Linked DNA regions of Homo sapiens: region 2 is linked to region 1. Evidence: promoter capture Hi-C in human tissues and cell types (Jung and others, 2019). All regions are on one chromosome and are shown on one strand. Each heading gives the region's core, a stretch centred on a gene start or on the middle of the fragment in contact. The rest is flanking DNA. Distances are from core to core; before and after follow the strand shown. Region 1 holds the start of CLN3 (CLN3 lysosomal/endosomal transmembrane protein, battenin). Region 2 holds the start of SULT1A2 (sulfotransferase family 1A member 2).

Region 1 (5,113 bases), core at 1,426-3,925:
CCCTTCTCACCAGTGCCCCCCTCAAGGCCTGGTGCAGCCCAGGGAGGTATAGCCGGAGGAAGTCCATCCTGTCTGTCTCTGTCTGTGTGTCCAGAAAGCTGATAATGACCGTCCCCACCCACCAAGACAAGCCAACCTTCCCCAGGACCAAAGGCACTTCCTCTTCCCCTGTCTCCCTGATGCGTCCCCACCCCAGGCCCTGCCCACGGCCCCTGATGCCCACAGTAGCCCCCACTGCAGCCCGGGAAATGGGTGTACATCACACAGGGGACTCAGGTGCACATTTGGAAATAAAGGACAAGCAAGAGGCCAGAAAGGACAAAGTGGGAGCAGGAGACCTTAGAACTGGGGAGGGGGAGAGGGAGGGGACATGTGGCAACAGCAGCTCAAGTGACTCAGGTCTCGTATCCGCACCTCAGCCATTTCTGCCTCCCCTACAAGCCACAGCCACTCTGCAAGAGGAAGCTGGGGTTTGTGGTTCCTGTTTTGCCTGGGAAGAAAGAGTAGCAGTGAAGAGGGGGCTGGTGGGAGCTCTGACACATTTCGGCGTCATTAATGCTTCCCCCAGGGGCGGAAGGGGCCGGATTGGTGGCTCTGGGGTGCATCCCCTCACCTATGATTAGGCTTGCAAAAAAGAACTTGGCTAAACTTTATATTGTGGATATCTGTGTCTGCCTCCCACCTTCCTGTGACTTCCTTGATGGCAGATGCCATGTATGAAACGCTGCTGAATTTCTAGAGCCCTGCACGTTAGTAGGATTCCATTTTCCATCAGCTGAGTGACCTGGGAGGCACACTAGAGAGGGCACATTTCTTTTCTTTTCTTTTCTTTTTTTTTTTGAGACAGTCTCACTCTGTCACCCAGGCTGGAGTGTAGTGGCGCAGTCTCAGCTCACTGCAACCTCTGCCTCCTGGGTTCAAGTGATTCTCCTGCCTCAGCCTCCCGAGTAGCTGGGATTACAGGTGCGTGCCACCACACCTGGTTAATTTTTGTATCTTTAGTAGAGACAGGGTTTCACCATGTTAGCCAGGCTGGTTTCGAACTCCTGACCTCAGGTGATCTGCCCACCTTGGCCTCCCAAAGTGCTGGGATGACAGGCATGAGCCACCACACCCAGACGAGAGGGCACATTTCCAACTGCATTCTGAAGGCCTGGTGGTGAGAAAGAGCATATAGAGGTGGCACAGCCCATAGCAGAGATGAGGCCAAGGACAAGAAGAGAATGCAGGATGCCGCTTTCCACCTAGAAGAAGGTAAGGGTATGATTCCTTATTTGGAACTACATAAAGTGACCTTGCTCTACTTCTCTTCCCCATACCCTCCTTCTCCCCTCCCCAGCCCCACTTTCCTATTCCAATTAGGGCAATTCTATGAAATCACAGCATCAGAATCTTAGGCCTTAAAATCATTTAGTCTGGCCAGGTGCAGTGGCTCACGCCTGTAGTCCTAGCACTTTGGGAAGCCAAGGCAGGTGGATTGCTTGAGCTCAGGAGTTTGAGGCCACCCTGGGCAACGTGGCAAAATCCAGTCTCTACAAAAAACACAAAAATTAGCTGGGCACAGTGGTGCGCACCTGCTGTCCCAGCTACTCGGGAGGCTGAGGTGGGAGGATCACCTGAGCCTGGGAGGTCAAGGTTGCAGCAAACCAAGATCCTGCCACTGCACTCCAGCCTGGGCAACAGAGCAAAACCCTGTCAAAAAAAAAAAAAAAATCTGGTCTAAGCACCACCTTTGATGGAGGCAGGAATCCTGCAGCAGCCTGGAGCCAACCCAATGGCTCCCTGCCTCTGGTGCTCTATTTCTTATCACCATACAGGTCTCTAAGGTCACCTTTAGGTCTAACATTGTATGAATGATTGTCAGCAACTTTCCAATTTTTTTCATATACATATATTTTTTTTATTTTATTTTTTACTTTTTCTTTTTTTGAGACAGGATCTCACTCTGTCACCCAGGCTGGAGTGCAGTGGCGTGATCATAGCTCACTGTAGCTTCAACCTCCTGGGCACAAGTGATCCTCCCACCTCAGCTTCCAAGGTACCTGTGACTACAGGAATGCGCCACCATGCCCGGCTAATTTTGTTATATATATATATATATATATTTGTACCTTGGTTTTCTCATCTGTAACACCAGGGGTTGAAGTGCTGTGATATTTTTTGGTTCTAGGATAATTTGGAAATAGGGATCTCTTAACATCTTGGATACTGCCAATAGATCATTCACGAAATCCCTTTAGATGAGTGTTATGTTTACTTAGGTCTCTAAAACAATTTGTAAGGTCAACAGATGGGGATAAGAATGACCTGAAGCTGGTCGTCTTTGTTCGCAACCAGAAACAGTCCTGCCTCAAAAAAAAAAAAAAAAAAAAGGGAGTAGGCAGGTGGCCATATTTGTTTCTGGCAAGTGAGTGCTGAAGGAAAGGAGCTGAAGCCTCCCACAGTCATAACTGGTGCTGGCAGGCTACTGTCTCGGTCTTGGGCGCCACTGATCTAAGGTCACGGCTCTGCTTGCTGCTCCCACCCGCTCCAGTTTAAAACCTGCGGTTCCAGGGTTCTCCAGCCCCTCCCTTTTTCACGCTCCGAAGCCGAGAAGGCCCAAAGCGAAGACAGAGAGGACCCGGAAGTAGGGAAAACCTCTGAGCACGTGATGGGGGAACACGCGGGTGCTGTCACGTGATCCGACAAACGGCCTCTGCATAGTGCAGAACATTCTGCTGCTCTTAAAGGTACAGGCCTCAGGGTCCCTGCTGTAGACGGGGCGGGGGAGAGTACGATGGGTGGGGCGTGGTGGGTCGTAGGGCGCTCGAGATGGAGCCCCCAGCTTCCTTGATGGATCGCGGGGCGCGAGTGCCCTAGACAAGCCGGAGCTGGGACCGGCAATCGGGCGTTGATCCTTGTCACCTGTCGCAGACCCTCATCCCTCCCGTGGGAGCCCCCTTTGGACACTCTATGACCCTGGACCCTCGGGGGACCTGAACTTGATGCGATGGGAGGCTGTGCAGGCTCGCGGCGGCGCTTTTCGGATTCCGAGGGTGAGTATTCCCGCCCACCCTCATGGAACGACCACCTCTGGCTCGCAGCCCACCTGAGGGGAATGAGAGCTGACTCGGCCCCGGGAGGACACGCAAGGAGCGGTCGTGCACCTGAGAGTAGGTGGGGGTCATGCCCTCTTCTCGCTCTCCCAGGGGAGGAGACCGTCCCGGAGCCCCGGCTCCCTCTGTTGGACCATCAGGGCGCGCATTGGAAGAACGCGGTGGGCTTCTGGTGAGTGGCCTGAGACTTCAGCGAGTGACAATGGCATGAGAAGAGGGAAGTGACCGGAGGAAAGGGGGAAGAAAGAGTTAAGCTGCGCAAAGGAGCTGAACCCACAAATATTTACTGAATCCACTGGTTTGCCCCAGGGGCAGCATGTAAAATTTCCAAACTTCACTCCTTATCACCTTCCGGATTTAGCAAGATCCTCATACCTACCACCTGTAGGATTATTTACTTTTTTCTTCCAGCCAATTCAGCCTTAACGTTTTTTAGTGCACATATTTTTAAAAAGAAAACTTTAAATCACGACTCCACTTGGAAAACCAGCGTTTTCCTAGTGAACGTTTAAATAAATGCATCACTACTAAAACTTTTTTATTTTTTTAATTTATTTTATTTTATCTTATTTTTTTTTCTTTTTGAGACAGGGTCTTGCTCTGTTTCCCAGGTTGGAATGCAGTAGTGCAATCACAGCTCCCTGCAGCCTGGAACTCCTGGGCTCAAGTGATTCTCCCACCTCAGCCTCCAAGTAGGTGTGGCTACAGGTGTGCACCACCGCATCTGCCTAATTTTTATATTTTTTTATAGAGATGGGGGTCTCACTATGGGACCTGGGCTGGTCTCAAACTCGTGGCCTCAAGTGATCCTCCTACCTCAACCTTCCAAAGTGCTGAGATTACAAGCATGAGCCACCATGCCGGGCCTGAACCTTTTTTTTTTTTTTTTTTTTTGAGACGGAGTCTCTCTCTGTCCTCCAGGCTGGAGTGCAGTGGCGCAATCTCGGCTCACTGCAAACTCCGCCTCCCAGGTTCACACCATTCTTTTGCCTCAGCCTCCGGAGTAGCTGAGACTACAGGCGCCTGCCACCACGCCCGGCTATTTTTTTGTATTTTTAGTAGAGATGGGGTTTCACCGCGTTATCCAGGATGGTCTCGATCTCCTGACCTCGTGATCCGCCCGCCTCGGCCTCCCAAAGTGCTGGGATTACAGGTGTGAGCCACCGCGCCCAGCTTTTTTTTTTTTTTTTTTTAATTTTATTTTATTTTTGAGACAGAGTCTCACTCTATCACCCAGGCTGGAGAGCAGTGGCACAATCTCGGCTCACTGAAACCTCCACCTCCAAGGTTCAAGCTATTCTCCTGTCTCAGCTCCCCGAGTAGCTGGGATTACAGGTGCGTGCCACCAGACACAGCTAATTTTTTGTATTTTTAGTAAAGACAGGATTTCACCATGTTGGTCAGGCTGGTCTAGAACTCCTGACCTTAGGTGATCCGCTTGCCTCCACTTCCCAAAGTGCTGGGATTACAGGCGTGAGCCACCGTGCCCCGCCCTGACATAGGGGCTTTGGGATCACAGACTTGGATTCACTTCCAGCCTCCAAGGCCTCTCCCAGAAACTCTCTGTGACCACTCTCCTTTTTTTTTTTTTTTTTTGAGATAGAGTCTCGCTCTTGTAGCCCAGGCTGGAGTGCAATGGCACAATCTCGGCTTACTGCAACCTCCGCCTTTCGGGTTCAAGTGGTTCTCCTGCCTCAGCCTCCTGAGTAGCTAGGATTACAGGCATGTGCAACTTCGCCCAGCTAATTTTGTATTTTTTAGTAGAGACGGGGTTTCTCCATATTGCTCAGGCTGGTCTCGAACTCCTGACCTCAGGCGATCCGCCCGCCTCGGCCCCTCAAAGTGCTGGAATTACAGGTGTGAGCCACTGCACTCGGCCTCTTCCTTTTTATTTTTTATTTTTGTGACAGGGTCTTGCTCTGTCACCCAGGCTAGAGTGCAGTGGCATGATCACAGTTCACTGCAGCCTCTGACTCCTGGACTCAAGCAATCCTCCCACCTCAGCCTCCCAAGTAGCT
Region 2 (5,113 bases), core at 1,081-3,580, 100 kb before region 1:
GGAGGGGGCTTGTGATGCCTGACTCTGTCTCTCTCTCTGGCCCCATGCCTTGGTAGCTGTGAGGCGTCACTGCTTTGGGTGACCTGATCTGGCTGTGATGGATGAGCACGGGGGAAATAGTGGAAGACTCGGAATTAGAAGACGTGAGTGGGCTTTGGCCCCAGCCTCCCTACCCCACTCCCTGTCCTGGGCTGCCTGTGACCAACCTTGTTTCTGCAGGCACACTGGATAGCCCTGCTGGAGCTCAGTGTCCCTAATCCCCTCCAGATACTGGTGGCCTAGGGGAGGTCATCAAAGACCGGTGGGACATCGACCTCAGCCCGTTTCCACGCTTTTTTTTGTTTTGTTTTGTTTTTTTGAGACCGAGTTTCACTCTTGTTGCCCAGGCTGGAGTGCAATGGCGTGATCTTGGCTCACCGCAACCTCCGCCTCCCGGGTTCAAGCGATTCTCCTGCCTCAGCCTCCCAAGTAGCTGGGATTACAGGCGTGTGCCACCAGGCTTGACTAATTTTCTATTTTTAGTAGAGACAAGGTTTCTCCATGTTGGTCAGGCTGGTCTCAAACTCCCGACTTCAGGTGGTCTGCCTGCCTCGGCCTCCCAAAGTGCTGGGATTACAGGAGTGAGCCACCGTGCCAGGCCTTCTCCAGGCTCTTGGCACCTTAGCCAGAAACAATTTAAGGACAAGTGCAAAAGTCATGAACGTAGGCAGATTTCCTGCAGAGTAAAGGGACTCACTGAAGAAGAGGAACGTGGGGGTCCTCAAGAGAGTGTCTCATGCCCTACAAGGTGTGGGGCTGACCTTTATGGGCTTCTTCAACTAAAGAGGGGTATATTCATGAAGATTCCAGGAAAAGGTAAAGATTTCTCAAGACCGTGGTGCCACAATTTACACCCAAATACAGGTGTTCCTGGAGCCGTCTTGGCACTGGTGGGTGTACGGTTTCATATGTTACTGATTGTACAGTGAGATCCTAGGTGAAACCTACATCAAATACAGCGCCATGTTGCTTCTGGTTGGTCGCAGCCAGCTTGGTCCTCATCCTATTTTTCAGGGACTTATTGGCCCTTGGCACATGCAGCTATTTCAAGTTTCCTTCTTCTGGTCATGTGAAACTGCTGCCTGGGATTTTCTGTTGTCTTGCTAGCACTCTATTAATCTCACATTCTCGCCTCTTTTCTGTGCCACCCCCTGCTGGTCCGGCTGGTTTTCACTAGAGTGCAATACAAAGTCTCAGTCAAGAGGGCCTCCTGAAGGTTGCTGAGGGCAGGGGTGGAGCTAGTAGCCGGAGGACCTGCCAGTCATGGGGATTCCTCAGGGGCACAGAGGAGGGAGGAGGGGCCTGTGGCCCTAGCAGGGGAGCAGCCTCTCCTCTGCCTGGAAATCCCATGCCTCAGTTTTCCCCGCTTGCCTCTGAGCTCACGCAACCCTGGGAAGGCTTGGGAGACTCACCTTTACTCAGATGGTTGTTTACCTGTCTCGTGCCCAGCTTGACCCTGGACTTTAAATAGTGAGGACAAAGAACGAGGAGGGTGGGGGGATGCACTCCTTCCACGGGGCCCTGTGGCTTCCAAGCCTCAACCTCCTCTGGCCTCTGTCTGTGGAGCCTCCTTCAAACCCATGGAAAGAAAAGTACCTGCCAGGGGCTGTGGTTCTTCTAGGATCTTCTATCGATGTTCTGTGAGGTCCCCAGGGAGCCATGAAGCTGGGGCTGGCTCCCAGGGCAATGGGACTGCAGTGTCCTTGTTCTTTCTTGTTCTATGGATCCATGCTCTGCTCCACCCCTGCCCCTTCACTCTGCCCACACGCATCACTCCAGACTGGCCTTGTGGTCAGAGCCTGGAGTGCATGGGCTGCTGGAGGCCTGTGGGTTGCACTGGGCCAGGACCCCTGGCACCTTCAAGACTGGCCTGGAGCCAGCAGGTAGGTGACCTTTCCAGGGCCTGCCTATCCCATCTTTCTCCTCCAATCCCTCCCCTCTCTTGCCTGGGTCAATTAGAGAAAGCTTGTCTTTTGGAGTTCAGGGGCAGGTCAGGAGCCCAGTGACAGCTCAAAAAAAAAAACCCACAAAAACAAACCCACCATTGGGCCCTTTCCCCTTTCATTCTTCTGTTTTCTACACACCAAACCCAGTCGTGGCTTTGGAGATCACTTTAAGCTTGTCTCCAGCTGGCAAACTAAGGAGGGTAATAGAGAAGCTCCCCCACCCCCAACCCTACCCCTTCCTTCCGGAAGCAAATCTAAGTCCAGCCCCGGCTCCAGATCCCTCCCACACTGACCTAAGAAACCCTCAGCACAGACAACACCCCTGCATTCCCCACACAACACCCACACTCAGCCACTGCGGGCGAGGAGGGCACAAGGCCAGGTTCCCAAGAGCTCAGGTGAGTGACACACCGGAATGGCCCAGGACGCCCTCACCCTGCTCAGCTTGTGGCTCCAACATTCCAGAAGCCGAGGCCTCTGCTATCCCTGCCCTCTCCCCATGGATATCCCATTTCAGACAACCCCGGCCGGCCTGAATCCCCCTCCCTTCCTTTTTTTTTTTTCCGGGGAGGCCAGGTCTTGCTGTCACCGAGGCTGGAGTGCTGTGGGATCCTGGCCACTGCAGCCTTGAATTCCTGGGCTCAAGTGATTCTCCTGCCTCAGTAGCTAGGACTACAGACCCTCACCATCCTGCCTGGATAGTTTTAAAAAATATTTTTAAAAGATTTTTAGAGATGGGGTCTTCCAATGCTGCCCAGATTGGTCTCCAAATTCTGGCCTCAGCCTCCCTAGGGTCTGGGATTACAGGTGGGAGCCACCCTGCCCAGGATCCTCCTTTTGCTGAGTCATCACAGTTTTGCTCATTCCCACATCAGGCTCTGGCCCCCAATACCAGCTCAGTTGCTCAATGGGCTGTTTGTCCTGGAGCCCAGATGGACTGTGGCCGGGCAAGTGGATCACAGGCCTGGCCAGCCTAGGAGTTGCCACATGTGAGGGGCCGAGGGGCTCAAGGAGGGGAACATCGGGGAGAGGAGCCTACTGGGTGGAGGCTGGGGGTCCCAGCAGGAAATGGTGAGACAAAGGGCGCTGGCTGGCAGGAAGACAGCACAGGAAGGTCCTAGAGGTTCCTCAGTGCAGCTGGACTCTCCTGGAGACCTTCACACACCCTGACATCTGGGCCCCGCGCCACGAGGGTGCTTTCACTGGTCTGCACCATGGCCCAGGCCCTGGGATTTTGAACAGCTCCGCAGGTGAATGAAAGGTGAGGCCAGGCTGGGGAACCACCACATTAGAGCCCGACCTGGTTTTCAGCCCCAGCCCCGCCACTGACTGGCCTTGTGAGTGCGGGCAAGTCACTCAGCCTCCCTAGGCCTCAGTGACTTCCCTGAAAGCAAGAATTCCACTTTCTTGCTGTTGTGATGGTGGTAAGGGAACGGGCCTGGCTCTGGCCCCTGACGCAGGAACATGGAGCTGATCCAGGACATCTCTCGCCCGCCACTGGAGTACGTGAAGGGGGTCCCGCTCATCAAGTACTTTGCAGAGGCACTGGGGCCCCTGCAGAGCTTCCAGGCCCGGCCTGATGACCTGCTCATCAGCACCTACCCCAAGTCCGGTAGGTGAGGAGGGCCACCCACCCTCTCCCAGGTGGCAGTCCCCACCTTGGCCAGCGAGGTCATGCTCACCTCAGCCTGCTCACCTCCCATCTCCCTCCCTCTCCAGGCACCACCTGGGTGAGCCAGATTCTGGACATGATCTACCAGGGCGGTGACCTGGAAAAGTGTCACCGAGCTCCCATCTTCATGCGGGTGCCCTTCCTTGAGTTCAAAGTCCCAGGGATTCCCTCAGGTGTGTGTGTCCTGGGTGCAAGGGGAGTGGAGGAAGACAGGGCTGGGGCTTCAGCTCACCAGACCTTCCCTGACCCACTGCTCAGGGATGGAGACTCTGAAAAACACACCAGCCCCACGACTCCTGAAGACACACCTGCCCCTGGCTCTGCTCCCCCAGACTCTGTTGGATCAGAAGGTCAAGGTGAGACTGGGCACAGTGGTTCACACCCGCAATCTCAGTACTTTGGGAGGCTGAGGTGGGAAGATCCCTTGAAGCCAGAAGTTCCAGATAAGTCTCTTCCAAAAAAAAAACTTAGCTGTGCATAGTGGTGTGTGCCTGTAATACCAGCTACTCAGGAGGCTGAGGTGGGAGGATCATCTGAGCCTAGGAGTTTAAGGCTACAGTGAGCTATGATCACACCAGTGCACTCCAGGCTGGGTGACAGAGAAACACTGTCTCAAAAAACGATGAATAGAAAGAGTGTCCCACCAGTGCGGTGGCTCACACCTGTAATTCCAGCACTTGAAGAGGCTGAGGCAGGTGGATCACCTGAGACTAGGAGTTTGAGATCAGCCTGGCCAACATGGCAAAACCCCATCTCTACTAAAAATACAAAAAAATTAGCCGGGCATGGTGGCAGGCATCTGTAATCCCAGCTACTTGGGAGGCTGAAGCAGGAGAATTGCTTGAAGCTGGGAGGCAGAGGTTGTAGTCAGCCGAGACCTCACCATTGCACTGCAGCCTGGGAAACAAGAGCAAAACTCTGTCTCAAAAAAAAAAAAAAAAAAAAAAAAAAAGCGGCAGGTGGCAGGGGGCTGGGCCTGTTGTGGCTCACGCCTGTAATACCAGCACTTTCGGAGGTCGAGGTGGGCAGATCACCCAAGGTTAGGAGTTTGAGATCAGCCTGGCCAACATGGAGAAACCCCGTCTCTACTAAAAATACAAAAATTAGCCAGGCGTTGGGGCAGGCGCCAGTAATCCCAGCTACTCGGGAGGCTGAGGCAGGAGAATAGCTTGCACCTGGGAGGCGGTGGTTGCAGTGAGCCGAGATTGTGCCACTGCACTCCAGCCTGGGAGACACAACGAGACATTGTTTCAAACAAAACAAATAAATATTTTAAAAGGTTTGCCACCTGGGTGGCTCACCGCTGTAATGCCAGCATTTTGGGAGGCCAAGATGGGTGGACCGCTTGAGCTCAGGAGTTCCAGACCAGCCCAGGAAACATGGGGAGACTCCATCTCTATAAAAGATGCAAATAATCAGCAGGGCATGGTGGCATAGCGCTATAGTCCCAGCTACT

Evidence for each region. Contacts are between HindIII fragments. The study calls those that stand out against the background at their distance.
Region 2: a contact is called between the fragment with the promoter of SULT1A2 here and the fragment with the promoter of CLN3 in region 1, in 2 of the 25 tissues and cell types used here (mesenchymal stem cells and small bowel).

Annotation. Positions count from the first base shown.
Region 1 is chr16:28,489,636-28,494,748 of GRCh38, reverse strand. It overlaps CLN3 (CLN3 lysosomal/endosomal transmembrane protein, battenin), which reads left to right and starts at 2,675. Exons shown (of 16, transcript NM_001042432.2): 1 at 2,675-2,729; 2 at 2,914-3,035; 3 at 3,189-3,267. The coding sequence starts at 2,990. It overlaps APOBR (apolipoprotein B receptor), which reads right to left and starts at 106. Exons shown (of 4, transcript NM_018690.4): 1 at 11-106. The coding sequence starts at 67. RefSeq lists enhancers at 2,465-2,664, 2,004-2,793. The HindIII fragment of the contact is 23,586 bases long and covers 1-5,113 here.
Region 2 is chr16:28,594,267-28,599,379 of GRCh38, reverse strand. It overlaps SULT1A2 (sulfotransferase family 1A member 2), which reads left to right and starts at 2,330. Exons shown (of 8, transcript NM_001054.4): 1 at 2,330-2,383; 2 at 3,446-3,597; 3 at 3,705-3,830; 4 at 3,916-4,013. The coding sequence starts at 3,450. RefSeq lists enhancers at 1-464, 2,098-2,392. The HindIII fragment of the contact is 13,947 bases long and covers 1-5,113 here.